Linked DNA regions of Homo sapiens: region 1 is linked to region 2. The links are contacts of gene promoters, found by promoter capture Hi-C in human tissues and cell types (Jung and others, 2019). All regions are on one chromosome and are shown on one strand. Each heading gives the region's core, a stretch centred on a gene start or on the middle of the fragment in contact. The rest is flanking DNA. Distances are from core to core; before and after follow the strand shown. Region 1 overlaps LOC105369583 (a long non-coding RNA gene). Region 2 holds the start of B3GAT1 (beta-1,3-glucuronyltransferase 1).

Region 1 (4,776 bases), core at 1,271-3,770, 230 kb after region 2:
CCAGTGCTGTGTAGGCTGCCGTGGAAGAGAAGATTCACTCGGGAGACCCCTGGACATCCTGGGAAGAAAGCAGGACACTCTGTGTAACCAGAAGCCTTGGACCCACTACCCACTGCCATGGATCCTCGAACAGGCCTTTTGCCCTCTCGAGAATTAGCTTCTCTGAGCCTTTTTTGGTCCTGCCAGGGCCCCAAGCATTGTTGGGAAATTGGGGAGTCCCTTGGCTCTGCGATGAGTCATTGGCGCTGGCAGAGAGAAGCCTTCCCATTTGCATTCACGCAAATGAAGTGGGGAAATCCTAGGTTTGGAAACTTAGACCGTGAGCGCTTCTCTTTTCCAAGTTTCCTATAACCCATAGAAGTCAGGGCTTAAATCAGAAGAGCTTCCTGACTTTGCCCTTATTATGATCCTGAATAGATACTGCCCTCTGCATGTTAGTTTCCTCATCTGTAAAACAGACTCACATGCTAATTGTGAGGCTCACCTGAAGTGAGAGGGGTGAAAGGTGTCTGTAAACTTGAAAGTCCTATGCAGATGGTGCTGCTAGGAGGGTGACAGCATGAGCCTGGTTACTGTCATCCCTCAGACCTATGGCTTCTCCTGGAGCCTCACCACCACTAGGTCATAGCTGGAGGCTGCCTGGGTTCATCTTGTGACATCACAGCGGACACACAAGCCCGGGCAGAAAAATGAAAATGCTCTATAGATGCTCCCGAAATGTGGTCCCTACGTGTTGCCATGACCAGAGAACTTTCTGGAAACAGCACCCAAGGCATTGGGTAGCTTTTCTTTCCCATAAATAGCATCTCCTGCTGTGTGGCCCAGAGTCTCCCGAGAATCTCTGCTGCCCAGATCCCCCTTCCAGCTCCTCCTGTCAGTTGGGGGGCAGGCTTGGCAATGCTGGAGAACAACTGGCACCTGCAGACATCAGCAACGGCTCGGTCTGAGGTGCACTCTGGCTTGGTGCAAATGAGCCCAGCCCCTGGGCTCCTAATATGGCTTCTCCAGCCTTCTTTCCAGGAGGCTGGCTCATTTCTCAGTCTCAATCCTGGAATGACAGAAGGTTCTCTCCTCTAAAAACCCACTTTTCTAGGCACTCTATGTTGAAATCTCAAACTCCTGGACACAATCCAAAGGTGAAGCTTCCTGATACACCTGCCCCTCCCATTTTGAACACAGCATTCCAGCCTCTTGGCAGCTTGGGATTGGTTCGTAGCTGCATTGCGGCACTTTCCTCCTCTGGCCAGGTGTCATTGCCATCTGGGCATGTGGTCATCTCCTGTACATGACTGTGACCCCTACAGGATAAGGAGCCTCTCCCTCTTCCTGCACCTTCCACAGTGAACCAAGCACTGTGTGGGATGAGAGACTCAGGCTTTGAGACTCACTCAATACTCGCAGTACTGCCACTCGTGGTTTGGTATTGAGCAGTAGTTTGTAAACCAGTTTCATACGTATATTTTTTTTATTTAAACTTTCCTGAAATGTTGTCTTCTGCATCAGGGAGATGGCAGGAATGAGAATGACTGTCAGAGCCTTTCCTTCCCAGGTCCCAGCACAGTGCAGCACGTCGGAGACCCTGCGGCACGTCGGAGACCCTGCAGAAGGGCCTATTCAGTGAGTTCTCAAGGTGCTGTTCTCATGATGGAGGTGGGAAGATGGAAGCTCAGGGAGTTTAAATGAGCATTCTAAGGTTTAGTAAATGCTAAAGACCAGACACAAAGCCAGGTCCTCTGATCCCAACAGCAACACTTTTTCCAGTGGAGGAGAATCCAGGAAGAGCTACAATCATTCTGATGCTGAAACTGCGCTTTTCAGCTCCCTCGGTCACTTGAAGACATGATCTTTCCCACCGTGGCTCCTGGCTTCTCCCTCCATTCCAGCTTGAACACTCTACATACTCGAGCACTAATCACACAGCCAACATTGGGACTTTCTGACGGGGGGTGCCATGGCAGCCTGTTGCTCTGAGAGCTGGTTCACACCTGGGCTGAGATGTGGATTCCTCCCCTTTGCAGGTGGAGACTGGGACTGCCATGGGCCTCCCCAGCTGGCCCCCTTCGGCAGCAAGTAGCAGCCCCATGGAGGGATGCCAGCATGCCCTGGTGCCTTGCAGTGCTCACACTCTCCACATATGCATGTCACGAATGAGAGAGGGCTGGGCAACACTCTCTGCCCCACACCCGTACCCAGACCACATGCATCCTCTCTCCTCCTCCCCGGAACAGCTCCCGCTTTGAGAAAGCTTTTCCTAAACAGGTCGTAAGGAGTTTTCCCGGTTGTCTCTCTGGCACCCAGGCTTTCTTAACAAAACCTCCCCATTCACTTATCTTCTGTCCCGCAGGGTCGCTGGTGGACGCTCCCCTGCACTCAAGTCACCAAATCCCACAGAGGGTTGGAGAAGAGGGGGCGGCTTTGCAGTGAGACAGACCTGCGTTCGAATTCCAGCTTTGGTTCAAATGACGAGCTGTGTGCCCTGGGGCAAGTCATTTGTTTAGTTTTTGTTCATCAACTTCCTCCTCTGTAAAATGAGAATGGACTTGAGTAAAAACATGCCTGTGAAGTATTTAGCAAAGAGCCGGCACAGGGTAATCACTCACTGCATAGTTACTACTGTCCTGGTCATTGTCATGACAATTACCAGTCACTCTCTGTTTCCTTCCTGACTTTAGACGGCACATCTAAAAGCCCCCACGACAACATCTGACACAACGTAACGAGATTGTAGCGCTGTCTAAGAAACAACCCTGCAAAGCAGCCACAAACTAGGCTCTCATCCCGACGATTTGAGCGCCCTGGTTACATGGAAGTTTAATTTCTTCCTGGCTAAATCTAGAACGTGGGAAATTCTGCAGAAATAAATGACCTAGTTTCTTGAACAGAATAAACTGCATGGGAAGAGGGGAATGCAGGTGTGACAGGTGTAAAGAAAGCAGCCGGTGTGTGTAGGCCCTGGATAAAACCTGATTGAAACACAGTGACTGTAAGAAGGTCCCTCTCCCCACTTTTTTGAAAACCTCAAGAAATTTGAGCATAAGCCAAGTATTAGTTTAATTGTTAGAAATCTTGTTAGATATAATTGTAGAAGTGCAGTTATGGGCTAAATATGTTTATTTATTAAAAATACATGAGGAAGTACTTTCAGGTAAAATTGTAATGCCTGGAATTTGCTAGAAAATCTCTGAGGAGAGATCTGAGGGTGGGGAGATGAAAGAAGCCAGGCATGAGCCGGGGGAGGTACAGAGGCTGAGGCTGAACACCCTTCACTCTTCTTTCTACTCTCATGTAATGTGGATGTTTCTATAATGAAGTAAGTATAAAAGTCAACAAAACCTCCCACTAACCTAACTGTGTCCGGGTTTCCGAGGTTCCCGGTTTCAGCTCAGCTGCCTGTGTTCTGGGGAGGGACTCCTCTCCAGCTGAGGGATCCGCGGGGACTGGCTCCCTCACACACACACAGCAGCACCTGCTGCCCGGGCACTCAGGCCTCTGCCTTACACCCTCTCTACCACGCTAGACACGCAGGACCCTGGGCCAGTGACCTAACCCCTCTGCACCTCGGAGCCTCCGTGTCAAACTGGGCTTGGGGATATCAAGCCTCTAGGCTTGTGTCTGCTGCATAAGAAGCCCTCCAAAAGCATTGCTCCACCCCTCTCTCGGGCTCTGTTCTCTCCTGGTCTATCTAAACCTCAGATGGCTACAGAAGCCCAGCACTCTGTGAGCCTGTCAGGGGAGCTGATGGCCCCAGTGATGCAGGCCTGGCAGTCTGGGGTGAGGAAGACAGCTCCAAGCCCAGTCACCTCTCCCTTCCTGTGCCTATCTGTGAACTAGAGCTTCAAGCAGCTCCAAATAAACTCGAGAGCTCCTGGCTATGCAACATTGATATCTTGGCCTCGAAGCGGGAAATCTGAGCCAACTTAATATCTTCCTTGAATAATCTGCTAATTTTGATGCCAGGAGCACTTCACCAGCTGTCGATAGCTCCAGTGAGAAATGAACCAGAAGAGACACGTTTGACCTGCTGTGGATTCAGATCCAACCACACGTGTGGGACTTGGGAGACAGGCACGTGGGTGTGCACGTTGTCAGCAGGGGCTGGCTTCAGACTGAGGCTGAACACATACAGGAGCCCAGACCAGGTGGCCTTGGCCCTTGTAGGCGATGGTGAGAATACTGATTTGTATTAAGAGGAATGAAAGATTTGGAGAGGAAGCAATTCTGATTTTCACCATCAAATGACAAGAACTGATCTTCTGCCTTTAAGTAGTTATAATTAGGTCATTGCAAAATTAACAAAATTAATAAGCTTATATCTGGGAGACCTCTTAAGACAGCAGTGTCCAGCTGGGTAATGGCACGGATTATGCCCACACAGCCTGGCCACTCTGTTGGGGGAGCAGCCCCCGCTGGAGCAGCCTAGGGAGAGGATGCAGGCCTTCCCCATCAGCTCAGCAGCTTATGGCTCAGTGGGTTTAGATGCTGGTAGTAAGCTCCTCACCCTCTTGCCCAATGTCTACAAAGGGTTGTTTTGTTCATGATGTCCAGAGGTCTAGTTGCTCATGACAGGTGGATAAGTCCAGTGACTCCACTGGGGCCTGAGGCAGAATTGTTGCGGCACCTCCTCGTTTCTCCCGTTCCCTCCCCTATCCCAGGCAGGTCCTGGCTAAAGACGTCCTTGGCCAGCTGGGTGTCAGGGGTAGGATCTTGCCCCTCAACTCCTGGCCACAGGGGGACTTTCTCCTTATCTACAGCCCAGGCCAATAGTCTCTTTCTCTG
Region 2 (5,077 bases), core at 1,128-3,627:
CTCTCCATTCTCATCAGAGAGGAACACTCATCCCTCTCTTCCAGAAACAATGGAGCACCATGCTCCTGTCCGCTCAGCCTTTCGGTTGGTGCATCCTCTTCCCCATCTCACACTCCCAGCTCCTGGCCGGCCTCATCACCCTGTGCTCCACACCTAGGAAAAGTATATCTGACTTGGTCCCCTTATCCCCGAGAAACCACTAAGAGAACCTTCAGGTCTCCCCAGAAGCCGAAGCTGAGGAACTGGGCTTGCCCCAGGGCATCCTCCTGTGAAGCTCCTTGGTCTCCGCCACGGGCTCCAATCCTGTTGCTGGAGCTTATCTCCTCAGTGATTTACCTGCCCCCTGCTTCTGGTGGAACAGTGAGTAACTGCCCAACCAGAAACCTACACACACATATTCAACACAGCGCCTGCAAGCTTCCAGCTCACCTGGACCTGGAGTGATCCCCAAGCATCCTGGGGTCAGGCACAGAAACAGGAACAGCGAGCTCCTGGCTCCAGTGCTGAATGGGGCACAGATGCATTAACTCTCCCAGTCCCATTAACCTTAGCAAGTATTTCTGCTTCCATGAAAAGGGGAAGAGGGAAAATGTCTCTAAGCTCTGGAACCTTTGGCAGTGCTGGGCATGGACTGGGCAGAGTGAGAAGTCTGTCTGAAGACCCTGGGAAAGGGTCTTCACCCCATGGGAAGAAAGGGAAGGCTTGATGTTTGGTCCAGTAAGGCCATTAATGGTCACCAACTGAGCAGACTCTGGGAGGAAATGTCTCAGTCTCTGCAGTGGCTACCAGCAGAGGTAGGGCGACATAAGCACAGAAGACAAATCTTAGAAAACCCTAGAACAACAGTCCTGTGCAGCCACATGCCCCACAGCCCTAGTAACTTAGGGAGTGATGTGCCTCCCATTTCCACACAAACACATCCAGGCATTGCACAGTGCTAGGCCCTACGACATCCGTACCCCAACATTTTCAACAGTGCGTGCTACACAGCCCAAGCTCTAGGCCCCATTGGGCACCCCACCTATGCAGGTGCCCATGCACTGGGCTAGCAACTGTCAGTAAAGGTCCCCTTCCTGTATGTCCAGAGTCCTTCAGCTCCAGCTTCTACAAGAATCCATGCAGCTAGGCCTGGCTGGGGGAGGAAGGGGACAGGGAAGTTGGCCAAGGCTCCCATGTGTGTGCATGTGGGGGTGGTTCTTGACCTTAGCTGCTTGGTACGGGGCTGTCACCTCCTTACCCTGGCACTGTCGGACCTGGTGGCTTCCTTCTCTATTTCCTGCCTCAACTCTCAGCCTCCTTTTTCTGGAAGTTGTGTGCTCTGACTTTGGAGGGATTGGGACCTCAGACCTGAGCCCAGGTGCAGATGGGAGGGTGGTGAACTGGTCGCGCCTCCTTCCTCCTTGCTACACCGAAGGTCCCAAGGGCCCTTTGCCACCCTTGCTACCCCTGGGTCCCTCAGCGCGCCCCGCAGAGCTCGGGCCCCCTCAAGAGAGTTAACTTGGCAGTGCCCAGGAGCCAGAGAGCGATCCAGAGAGCGCTGTTGGGCAGCAGGGGTGGGGAGGTGGGGGACGACTGACCCCTGACTCCTCATCCGGCCACCAGAAACCACCTGCTGAGGGGGCCGGGAACTGACGACTGAGAGCCCGGGCCGATTGTTAGAAGCTGCTGAGAACCAGCTCTTCCCCTAATCCCGGTCGACGAGGGCAGGCTGTGCCGGGTTTTGTTTCGCAGCCCCTCGGCAGCAGCGCCTCCCAGCCCGAGCTCGGTTCTCGGCCCCCTTTCCAGCTGCCCCCAGCGCGCGCAGCGCACACACACACACACACACACACACACACACACACCCCAGCGCGCGCCCGGGAGGACATGGCGTGGGCACCGATGGGGACGCAGAAAGGGGCTCTGTGCGCGGCGGGGCGCCCGCGGGGGCGCGGGGAGCACTGACCTGCGGCGACGAGTCCGGAGCGTCTCCGGTGCGGTCCATCGCGGGCAACGGCCCCTACGCCCCGGCCCCGGCGCCCCTAGACCGCTGCCCTGGGCCGCGTGCGGCTCCCTCCCCGGGGACTGTCGGGCTCCGGGCCCCCGGGGGCCACTTCATAGCCGCGGGGTCCGCGCGCCCGCCCGCCCCGCCCGGCCCCGCCGCCCCGGCCCGGCTCGTTCTGGGCTCAGCGAGGCGGCGGCCGAAGGCTGGGAGCGCGCGGGAGGGAGGGCGCGGGCAGGGAGGCGGGGGGCGGGGGGCGGGGAGGGGGAGCGGGGAGGGGGAGCGGGGAGCGGGCGCGGGGGCGAGAGGGGCGAGGGGGGCGCGCGGCCGGAGCCGAGCCGACCGGGCCGGCGCAGAGTCCCCGAGGTGGCGGCGGATGCGCCGGTGCCGCCGCGGCTCTGCCGGCGCCTCCCGCCCCGCCCCCACCCGCTCTCCGCCCCCGCCCCGCCCCCGCCCCGAGCCCGCGCCAGCGCCGGCGGGACCCGAGCTGCTAATGGTCGGTACCAACCTCGCCAGCCTAGGCGGGGGCGCGAGGAGGGAGGCCGGCGAGGGGACCCCCCCCCGGGATTGGTATCACCTCCCCACCGCCCCCCACCCTCCCCCGGCACCGTCCCCCGCGGAGGCGGCTCCCGCTTCAGGCGGCGGAGCAGGGGTGGCGGGCAGGGGCCGAGCGCACCCCCAGATCTCGGCTCTCGAGAGTTAAAGCTCGGCCCCCGCCTGCACCCCCATTCCACCCCGCCTCCATCCTGGCTGCTCCTGGCGCCCAGCTTGGCAGCCTCTCTCAAAGGGTGATTGTTTCCGGCCGGGCTGCTGCAGGAGGGCGGGGGGCGGCGCTCTGGGACCGAGAGGCCGAGCTGGGAAGCCGGTGGGGGATGCGGCTCCTTCCTTGGCTCCAGGCACCCCGGATGGGAGGTGGCCGGTGGGGGCGGACGGTGCCGTGCCGGGGTACGGGGTCTGCTGCCCCGTGGAAGGGCACCTCGAGCCGCCGCGCGTCAGCCTCACCCCAGCCTCCCCTTCCGGGCCGGTGCACCCGGCGTTCCGGAGAGAGGCCCGGGAGGCCTGCGTGGGCGGACGGGCGCGGGGAGGCCGGGGGCAGCGGGATCTCCAGGAGTTTCCCGGGCCTCTGCCGCGGTGTGTTGGTCGGCGGGGGACGGAGGCCAGTGAGTGGGCGCGCACTTGGACGTATGTGGGTGCACTGGTAGGGTGCCTCTGTGGAGCTGTATATTCCAGATACTCCTTCAGCTTGTCGGAGACTTTGAAGCCATCCTTGCACTCGTTTTAGAGGTTGGCATCTCCCGGTGCTCTTGGACACCTGTATTCGGGCCACACCCGCTGTGTCCTCTTCACAGCCCCAGGAGAAGGCCACCTCCCATGGCGGGGTTCGCGGCGGGACCAGGGACTGTCGGTACTTTCTCTAGGGTCTCCCTCCTTCCCGGGAAACCAGTTCCAGCCCCACTGCTAGGCACTGCTTAACCAGAGCTGTGCCCCCGTGCTATGGGCTGGGGCTGAGGACCACGGGCCTCTTTTCCATCAGCTTTCCTGCCCTGTTAGGACCAAGCCGGGCCCTGCTCTTCCCACTGAGGATGTGCAGGTGGGGAGGGGGCAGAGACTCCAGAATCAGCCCCTTTGGTCAAGATTTTGAGGGGAGGAAGGCACCTCACCGTCCGTATCATGCCACAGACATGTGAAAGTGTCCTTAGTGACTATCTCTAGGGATAACTGCTCCTCCTTGTCGTGCGCTCTTTCATTGTTGTGCTTAACAGCCCCCTTTGCCGGCAAGAAACTTCCTCTGAATCTAACCTCAGTACCTCCTGCTGCGGTACAGGAGCATTTCCCCCTTCTCTTAATGAGTGGAATCCCAGCCAGCCTTGCTCCGCCTTCTTCTGCCCCTACTACAACCCTCTCTTTTAGACTCTGCTAAGAGACCTTTCCTAAGTCGGTGTTCTCTGGTATTTTCCTAGTCTCCATACTCTGCTTCTCCTTAGACTCCACACCAGCTGAAGGGAGGGGAAGGGCAGGTGCAGAAGCAGGATGGGCGGGGGTACCAGAGAGCACCAAGGAGGGGCCAGGCCGTCCAGGAGGGCACATTGCCTCCCTCCTCTGCTAAGCCAGCCAGCCGCAGTCACACAATCACCAAATGGGAGGACAGAAATGACCGTGAAGACTGTCTCGTTCCAGACCCTCATTTTACCAACAGGGAAACACACCCATGAGGGGTGATCTCAAGAGAGCTCAGGGACATGGCGACGAGGAGGCCTGGGTTTCAGGCCGATTCTGAAGGCACTAGCAAAAGACTTCCCCTCAGGGCTGGTTTCAGTAATGAAACAGAGGGTTGGACTAAGTGGGCTGTGGTCCGACTTGTCCTGCTGGGCTGTGGCTCGGAGATGCTGTCTGCAGGGGTTCTCGGCTTTACCTCAGCATTCTGGCAGGAACAATTGTGATAATAAAGCCGCTTTCAAGGGACCTGTCTTGCATCTTAGTTCCAGGCTCTGTTTACAGAATTTTTAGTATTAATTTTTAGAGCCAATTTAAAACAATAATAGGAGATTAAAATTAGCATGATAAGGCTCAGTGAAGAGACAACAGCCTGCCATTCGTTTTGGTGGGAAGTTTTGGCAACATCCCAAGTGTATGGACACACACAAATGTACTGACATCTACGCAGGCACAAAACATGCTCATAGAGGCAGCTACACATGCAGATTCACCCACATGAACACACACACACACTCTGAAATACATCATGTGCACATGTAAACGCTTGCACACGGATGTACCTGAAGCACCTGCACCCACACAGACACACGTGTACACACACCATCCCCCGGGTCAGCCACACTCCCACCCCTGTCTTCCTGCTTGGCCTCTGCAGGACTGTGGAAATCCTTCCCTCCCATGTCTGGACTTGGTGCATCCTCACAGCTTGACCCTTGCTCCAAACATCTGGAGCACCTCTAAGGTCTCCCTGAATGATTGATCTTCCCCTCCCCCTGCCTTCCCTGCCAGTAGTGAGCCCCTCTTCTCAGAGGCCCCCAAAGCCTAGCACCAGCATGTTTAGTATGCAAAGCCCGGGTTTGTCCTCTGGGACAAACCGTTATG

The links. The method cuts DNA at HindIII sites, captures the fragments that hold promoters and counts their contacts. A contact is called where the count stands out against the background at its distance.
Region 1: a fragment that was not itself captured here is called in contact with the fragment with the promoter of B3GAT1 in region 2 in 4 of the 25 tissues and cell types used here (H1 embryonic stem cells, IMR-90 fibroblasts, dorsolateral prefrontal cortex and 1 more).

The regions. Positions count from the first base shown.
Region 1 is chr11:134,641,206-134,645,981 of GRCh38, forward strand. It overlaps LOC105369583 (a long non-coding RNA gene), which reads left to right. Exons shown (of 3, transcript XR_948212.3): 2 at 1-1,617; 3 at 2,345-4,776. Among named protein-coding and RNA genes, the nearest start is that of LINC02706, 69 kb to the right of the region's middle. The HindIII fragment of the contact is 4,286 bases long and covers 378-4,663 here.
Region 2 is chr11:134,409,865-134,414,941 of GRCh38, forward strand. It overlaps B3GAT1 (beta-1,3-glucuronyltransferase 1), which reads right to left and starts at 2,378. Exons shown (of 6, transcript NM_054025.3): 1 at 1,943-2,378. RefSeq lists an enhancer at 967-1,526. The HindIII fragment of the contact is 21,477 bases long and covers 1-5,077 here.